Linked DNA regions of Homo sapiens: region 1 is linked to region 2. The links are contacts of gene promoters, found by promoter capture Hi-C in human tissues and cell types (Jung and others, 2019). All regions are on one chromosome and are shown on one strand. Each heading gives the region's core, a stretch centred on a gene start or on the middle of the fragment in contact. The rest is flanking DNA. Distances are from core to core; before and after follow the strand shown.

Evidence for each region. Contacts are between HindIII fragments. The study calls those that stand out against the background at their distance.
Region 1: a fragment that was not itself captured here is called in contact with the fragment with the promoter of PRKCB in region 2 in 2 of the 25 tissues and cell types used here (dorsolateral prefrontal cortex and mesendoderm cells).

The regions. Positions count from the first base shown.
Region 1 is chr16:24,439,726-24,443,950 of GRCh38, reverse strand. No RefSeq gene overlaps it. Among named protein-coding and RNA genes, the nearest start is that of RBBP6, 98 kb to the left of the region's middle. The HindIII fragment of the contact is 9,139 bases long and covers 1-4,225 here.
Region 2 is chr16:23,834,733-23,838,490 of GRCh38, reverse strand. It overlaps PRKCB (protein kinase C beta), which reads right to left and starts at 2,508. Exons shown (of 17, transcript NM_002738.7): 1 at 2,143-2,508; 2 at 1,085-1,116. The coding sequence starts at 2,315. RefSeq lists enhancers at 1,403-1,542, 1,806-2,351, 2,352-2,899 and silencers at 1,853-1,932, 2,263-2,342, 2,373-3,012. The HindIII fragment of the contact is 26,630 bases long and covers 1-3,758 here.

The DNA.
Region 1 (4,225 bases), core at 847-3,346, 610 kb before region 2:
ACCAATTTATTATTTTAAAAAACCCTCAGGAACAGCCAGATGGAAGAGGTCCACAGAGCAAGGCCTAGGAGAGGGGTGTGGAGCTTCCATGCCCTCTCCGGGCACATCACCCTCCCAGCATGTCTGTGTCTTCACCAACCTGGGAGCTCTACAGACCCCACTGTTTAGGGGTGTTTTGGGTGGAGGCTTAATCCTGCAGGCATAATTGATTAAATCACTGGCCATTGGTGACTGTCTTCCTTTCCAGCCTCTCTTTCCTCCCTAAAGGTTGTGGGAGTGGGGCTGAAAGTTCCAAACTTTTTGTTTTTGTTTTTTTTTGAGACGGAGTTTCGCTCTCGTTGCCTGGGCTGGAGTGCAATGTCACGGTCTTGGCTCACTGCAACCTCCGCCTCCCGGGTTTAAGCAATTGTCCTGCCTCAGCCTCCTGAATAGCTGGGATTACAGGCGCCCGCCATCATGCCCTACTAATTTTTGTATTTTTAGTAGAGACGGGGTTTCCACCATGTAGGCCAGGCTGATCCGGAATGCCTGACCTCAGGATATCCACCTGCCTCAGCCTCCCAAAGTGCTGGGATTACAGGCATGAGCCACCGCGCCTGGCCTGAAAGTTCCAAACTTCTAATCACATGGATGTGATTCCCTCTGGCAACCAGCCCCAAGCCTGAAGCTATCTAGGGGACCCCCCCTTGAGTCATTTGCATATACCATTAGCATATACTCAGGTGTGGTTGAAAGGACCTTACTATGAATAACAACAGATGCCCCTAACATTCTGTCACTCAGGAAATTACAGGAAGCTCTTGTACCAGGAACTGGGGAGAAAGACCAAGTATGTATTTCTTATTACATCACAATATTACGGTTTCCCAAATGAAAACGAGCAAAAGTGAGGTTAATTGTTGAGGTAGGGCTGGAAACAACAAATTCTATAGACCAGGGGTCCCCAACTCCTGGGGTCACAGACCATGGCCTGTTAGGAACTGGGCTGCATGGCAGGAAGTGAGCTCGGCGAACCAGCATTACTGTCTAAGCTCCATCTCCTGTCAGATCAGCAGACGCATCAGATTCTCATAGGCGGGAGAACCTTATTGTGAACTGCGCATGTGAGGGGTCTAGGTGTTGTGCTCCTTATGAGAATCTAATGCCTGATGATCTGTCACTGTCTCTCACCACCCCTGAATGGGACCATCTAGTTGCAGGAAAACAAGCTCAGGGCTTCCACTGATTCTACATTATGGTGAGTTGTATAATTATTTTATTATATATTACAATGTGATAATAATAGAAATAAAATGCACATTCAATGTAATGTGCTTGAATTATCCCCAAACCATCCATCTCCCTCCCTGCTGTCCATGGAAAAATTGTCTTCCACGAAACTGGTCCTGGTTGCCAGAGAGGTTGGGGATGGCTTCTACAGACTGTAAACTATAGGGGAAAACCTATAGGGAGGCTCAGATAAATCTGCTTCATAGGTAAGAGCAGAGGCTCAGAGGGAATTTGTCCACCTTCAAAATGCCCCTTGTTATGTGACCCTGGGAAGGTCATATAAAGAAAGTTACAAAAAGAGGAGAGGCTGGGCATGGTGGCTCACCCCTGTAATCCCAGCACTTTGGGAGGCTGAAGCGGGTGGATCACTTGAGGCCAGGAGTTGGAGACCAGAATGTGCAACATGGTGAAATCCCTCCTCTACTAAAAATACTAAAAAGTAGCCAGACATGGTGGTATGCACCTGTAATCCCAGCTACTCCAGAGGCTGAGGCACAAGAATCTCCTGAACCCGGGAGGTGGAGGTTGTAGTGAGCCAAGATCACACTACTGCACTCCAGCCCAGGTGACAGACTGGGACTCTGTCTCCAAAAAAAAAAAGGAATATCAGTAACTGCTTCATAGGGCCGTTGTGAGGACTGAACGAAATGATACACATGAAGCATTTAGCAGGGTGCCTGGTTCATTGCAAGTATTGACAAAACATGCCCTCCACATCCAGGGGGTGTGGGGAGAGACAGTCTAGTCCCTGACCCCAGCCCTGACCAGCTTAATACCTACCCTAGAGCCCACCCTTCGGAATGGAGTGTAAACTTCATGTTTAAAGCCTTCTGGCACTGAATAGAAAAGATGTAGCTCGGAAAACTCTTTTAGTTAGGCTCATGGCTCTAGGGCTCAGTCGGAGATTATTTGTTTTTTCTTTTTTTCAGTGCTGCCAATGCTGGGGATGAGAGTTGGCAGAAAGAGGGTTTTTAGAGGATGGACTTTTTTTATTCCCATGAGATACATGTAACTGTCAGCTGCGCCTCCCCCTGTGAAGGTGTTATTGAGCAAATGGGCTTGCAGCCTGATGTGCATGGAAGCCAATAACTGTGGCACCAGAATTTGAGAAAAGAAAGGCTTTACTGCGAAACCGGCCAGCAAGGAGACAGGAGTCAGGCTCAAATCTGTCCCCCTAGGGCTAGGCGCAGTGGCTCACGTCTGTAATTCCAGAACTTTGAGAGACTGAGATGGGAAGATCTCTTGAGGCTAGAAGTTCGAGACCAGCCGGGACAACATAGTGAAACCCTGTCTCTGTAAAAAATAAAAAATAGCAGGTCGTGGTGTTGTGCACCTATAGTCCCAGTTACCTGGGAGGCTGAGGAGGGAGGATCGCTTGAGCCTGGGAGGTCGAGGCTGCAGTGAGCCATGATTATGTCACTGCACTCCAGCCTGGGTGATACAGCAGTATGCTGTCTCAAAAAAAAAAAAAAAATCTGTCTCCCTGATTTGGGCTCTGGGACAAGTTTTAAAGAATCAGAGGACAAGGGAAAAGATTTAGGAATGTTAGCTTGGCAGGGTTTGATTGGAGGGCTTCAAATTTGACCATTTATAGTAAGATATGTTGAGGTTGGGCTGGGCATGGTGGCTCATGCCTATAATCCCAGCACTTTGGGAGGCTGAGGTGGGTGGATCACCTGAGGTCAGGAATTCGAGACCAGCCCGACCAACATGGTGAAACCCTGTCTCTACTAAAAAAACACAAATTAGCTGGGCATGGTGGCACACACCTGTAATCCCAGCTACTCAGGAGTCTGAGACCGGAGAATTGCTTGAACCCAGGAGGCCGAGGCTGCAGTGAGCCGAGATCGTGCCATTGCACTCCAGCCTGGGTGACAGAGCAAGACTCTGCCTCAAAAAAAAAAAAAAAAAAAAAGATATGTTGAGGCTGATTTTGGCCCAGATCTTTCCAGCCAGTGAAACCCTTGCTTTCGAAGAGTTCTGGTGTTCAGGTTTCGGCCATGTCCCGGTCTTCTTGGTTCCAAAGGGGAGGAATTGTTGGTTCTTGGTCTTGTCAAAGCTTTTTCTATTGCATATGCCCAGGCTGCCTGACTTGCAGCTTTTGGCTCTGTTACGTCTAAAAGACAAGCCCACATTTGCTTATAAACAGAGTAGGCCCAGTTTGGGCTGGTCCCATGGTTACAAAGGGAAGTGACTCAGTCACCGAAATCAGGAAGCATAGATTAGCCTATTGGGACCAGGACTTTGGTGCCCGTCTGACAAGGAAAGAGATGGGTCCCAGGCAGCAACCACCTGCCCCTTCTTGCTACTGCATTTCATGGCTGCCACCATAGCATGCATGACTACGGTTTCTGAGCAGCAAAGGCTGGGGTGGGGCCCAGGAAGTCACAAGAACCTTCTGTAGGGATGTTCCCATTTGGGTCGGAAGGGTGGATGAGACTAAAAATACCACCTACATGACATATTTACTCTGCTCTTGTTAATACCCTAGAGAGATTGCCAAGAGTCACTACCACCAAGCCTGTGATTAAGCCGTAATAACCACTTTTGTGTTTATAAATTTTGTCCTTGATATCAGAGAGGAGTATTTTTAGGCTAGAACTTGGAGCTAACAAATCCCATTGCAGGAGTGCGGATTTAGGCAAGCATCTCTCAAGGAGAACTTCCCAGGGCACAGCAACTAGGCCAGGAGAGATCTGTCCATAGGAATAAATTGGGAGGCTCCAGGCACCATGTCTCCATCTTGTGGAAAGCTTTGTAGGGAAAACTCTCCCCAAACTGCACTTTTCCTCTACTCTCACGCTACAACAATCATCAACACAGAAGAAGACTTCTGTGACCAAATGTGTGGGTTTTTTTCCCCACACACCAAGCAGTGGACCCCAGCTGGGTGTCCTCTAATTCAGTTCCTTCACTATCTACTTGGAGATAGTGTCAGATCCCAGGCTCAGTCCCC
Region 2 (3,758 bases), core at 1,259-3,758:
GCCCAAGAGTGAAAAATTAAAATTTAAATTAAAAAGAAAACATAACACACAAACTTTCCAGATGAGAGGTTGCAAACTTAAATGCCCACAGGGGCCAGAAATGGGTGAAGTGTTCCCCACTGGGATCAACTGAGACAAAATGGTAAGGCTGTTCCCCATCTACGACGACGGCTCTCAGCTCCAAACGATTGTTTTCAAGCGAAAGTGAGACCATTTCTCAGCAAAGTTAAAGTTGGAAATTAGGATGTGTATGTGAAATCTCCCAGTTCTAAAACGTTCACATCAAATTCACAAGTAAGACACCCTAAGGGCTACACAGAGCTGCGGGTAACTTTTGGTCCTGGAGAGCCAATTTGCAATCTGTCTTTTAGACATGAGCCCCAAAGACGGGGGAGGGGGACACTTTACACGTGATCAACTCACCACCAGCAGGTTTGATACCCCTGGTTAGAGTCCAGGATCTCAAGCCAGATGCAAGAACTCAGGTAACCAGTGCCCTGGAGACCTTTCTGTTTCAACCCAGAAGATAGGGTGATTTAAACCAGGATCTGAGAAACACTCCCTCTGGAAATACTTCTTTCAGAGAGAGAGGAGGCCCAGGCGACAAACACAGTCGCCTTTCTAGGGGATGCACCATCTGCAGAGGAGCGGCAGCCACCTGCAGAGACCTCTGCAAGGCAGGGAGAGGCAGAACCTCCCTGGGTGAGATAAGGAAGGGACATGGGCAGAGAAAGGGGAACTAAGGAGGACAGGTTCTCCCAGAAACGTCCCGGGAAAACACTTTCTCCCCCAGCGGAACTGACCATGCCAGGATTGCTTCAGGAGACCGCTTTGACTCTTCCAGAGCCGGGAAGGCAGGAAGGGTAGGTGAACTTCCTTGGCATGTAAGACTCCCAAGCGCCATCGGCCCCAGTCACACACACACCCCTTGAAAGGACCCTGTTGTGGTGAAGAATTCCTAGCCTGGGAGGTCACTCCGACCAACGTGATTCTTTCACTCTCTGCCTAACTCAGTAACTTCTTCTATAAAGTATTTTTCACCCTCTCTTCCCACAAATAGCATCCCCAAAGCCCCAGAGCCTACCTTGGCACTGGAATCCCTGCTTCCCGAAGCCCCTGCAAAAGCAGAAGGAGGTGTATGTCAGGCAGCCCGGGGGGCCCAGCCTCCAGCTAGTTACCCACAGAGTCACCCGCCTTCCTCCCTGCCTCTGTACCCCAGGTGCAAACTCCCAGCCACAGGCGGGTGCCCAAGAGTCTTCCGCCTTTGTGGGGGTAGGTGGGAGCTCGGCTGTAACCCCCATCTGCCTTCACTCCTGCAGAAGAGAGGAGGCTGCGACCACCAGGTGGCGGGATAGTGGGGAGCGTTTCCGTCGGGGTAGGGGCTGAAGGCAGGCGACAGATGTACCCATAGATGCCCCGAGCACCCTCGGGAAAAGAGAAGAGATAAAGACGCATTCAGAGGGAGGGCGAGAGTGACCCCGCGGCGGTGGTGTCCTCTGGGAGGGGGACTGGGAAGGAGGAAAGGATGCCCCACTACTGGAGGGACTGGGGAAGAAAGGGGCCCGCAGTGATGTGACCGAGGAGTGGAAAGGGGAACCCAGGCCCTCGGGGAGGGGCAATGGGAGATAACACAGGGCGCTGCCCGGAGGCACAGAGGAGTGAGAAAGGATGTCCCATGCCCGCAGGGAGATAGAGAAGGACACCCAGGGCGCCGCCCCCCCCGGAAACAAGGGGTGGGGGGCGAGGGCTCCTCGCGCCCGGAAGCAGGCGGAGAGATAGGGAACCCCGGGTCGGAGAGCACCCGAGGCGCTGCCCTCCAGGGCAGGCACAGACCCCGCGCGCTCCTAGTCAGGTGGAGCAAAGGCTCCCGCGACGCCGCCCCTGGGCGCTCTAGAGGCGCCTGAGAGCAGGAGAGGGCAGGAGGCGCCCCGCGGCGGCCCGTCTGGGACCAGGGTGGGGACAGGGCAACGGCAGGACTGTCCATCCGGGAGTCCCGGGCAGCAGGGTCCGGAGCCGGGAGTCCGGAGACGCGGGGTCCCAGGGTGCGGAGGGCGCGGAGGGCGCAGAGGGCGCGGAGAGGGGGTCCCTGGCGCGGCGCTGCCCTCGGGGGCCCGGGAAGGTGCCCTGCGCGCGCGCGCTCACCAGATGAAGTCGGTGCAGTGGCTGCAGAAGGTGGGCTGCTTGAAGAAGCGGGCGGTGAATTTGTGGTTCTTGACCTCATGCACGTTCTTCTGCCGGAGGGCGCCTTTGCGGGCGAAGCGCACGGTGCTCTCCTCGCCCTCGCTCGGCGGCGGCCCCGCAGCCGGGTCAGCCATCTTGCGCGCGGGGAGCCGGAGCCCGAGAGGTGCCGGCCCCGGGGCCGCGGGACCGCGGGCTGCGGGCCGGGGAGGCGCGGGAGGCGGCGGCCGCTGCTGCACCCGGGGCCGCGGGCGCTTCCCCTGCGCCGGCTCTGGCGGCCGCGGCGCGCGGAGCCGGGGCTGTCACTCGCCCAGCTGCTGCCGCTCGTCCAGCTGCGCTTGGCACCGCTGGCCCCAGCTGCGGGGGAGGGAGGCGGAGCCCCGGGCCAGCCCCGCCCTCCTCATTTGCATCGCGCCCAGGCCCCGCCCAGCGCTGCCAGCTGCTTTACATATCGGCGCCCGGGCTACCGCGGGCCTCGCGGCTAAGCGTGCACAGCCGCAGCTCTGCAGCGCCGGGACCGCAGCCCGGGGTCGTCGGACCCGAGCCTCGCCCCCCACCCCACCCCGTCCTCGGCCCCCGGGGCTGCGTTCAGGAGATGTGCCCAGGGGAGGAGCGAGAGTGGAAAGACCTACGGGGCGAAGGGGAGCGGGTGGAAGGGGTGGGGCGCAGCGAATTCCACCCCGGCCTCTGCGGAGACTGGTACCCATCCACCCCCATCCATCCCATTGGTCATTCTGCACGCGTCTCCTGGAGGGATGGGCTCCCGCTGTCACTCATTCGGAAAGGCTTGTGGCCGCACACACTTACACACACATACACACACACGTTCTGCAGAGGTAGGGGAGGAGCGATCTTTATTTTATATGTCTCTAACTCCACCACAGAGAAGATTCTTGGCTTTGCTTGCCTCCTGCACGTTTGGAAGAGAACTCCCTACCTTCTGTCCATCCCCTCTGCAAAACGACTCCGTTTCCCCAACTGTAACATAGGGCTAATAGTGTGGGGAGGAAGGATTTCAGTAGATCAATATTTTTCCAAATTTCATTCATTTCTGACTCGTCTTCACAAATTCTGGTCGTATTTGTGCACCCTCTGGGGGAAAAAAAGCCTATCTCTTTTGGTCTGAGTTTGAACAGCAAGAGGTATCTACATTATTAAAATATCTCCAGGTGCCGTCATCTGTCCTAAGCATCTTCGACTGAAGTCATCTTTTATTTGTTAAGAGAGGAAATTAATAAATGCTAGAGGGGTGTTAAAGACATTACTATCCAACCAGGACTCTCTCCTTGATGTGATCTGAAGGTAACTGAAAGGGTAATAATTGTCTACAATGTGTAATTCAATGTTATTTAGCGCCCTGTTCATGCACAAGGCCTAAAGATACCCACTGCCACCATGTCCCCCACTCTGGGAACGCAGAGCTTCATTAGGCTGTGAGCTCCTTCACCAGACCTAGGCTCTGTGAGAGCAGGGGGGCTGTTCACCACCATGTCGCCCAGCACCAAGCTCAGTGCCTGACACCTCCCAAGACCCCAGTAAATATTGGTTGATTGAGTGAGGGCATGGATGAACAAGTGAAT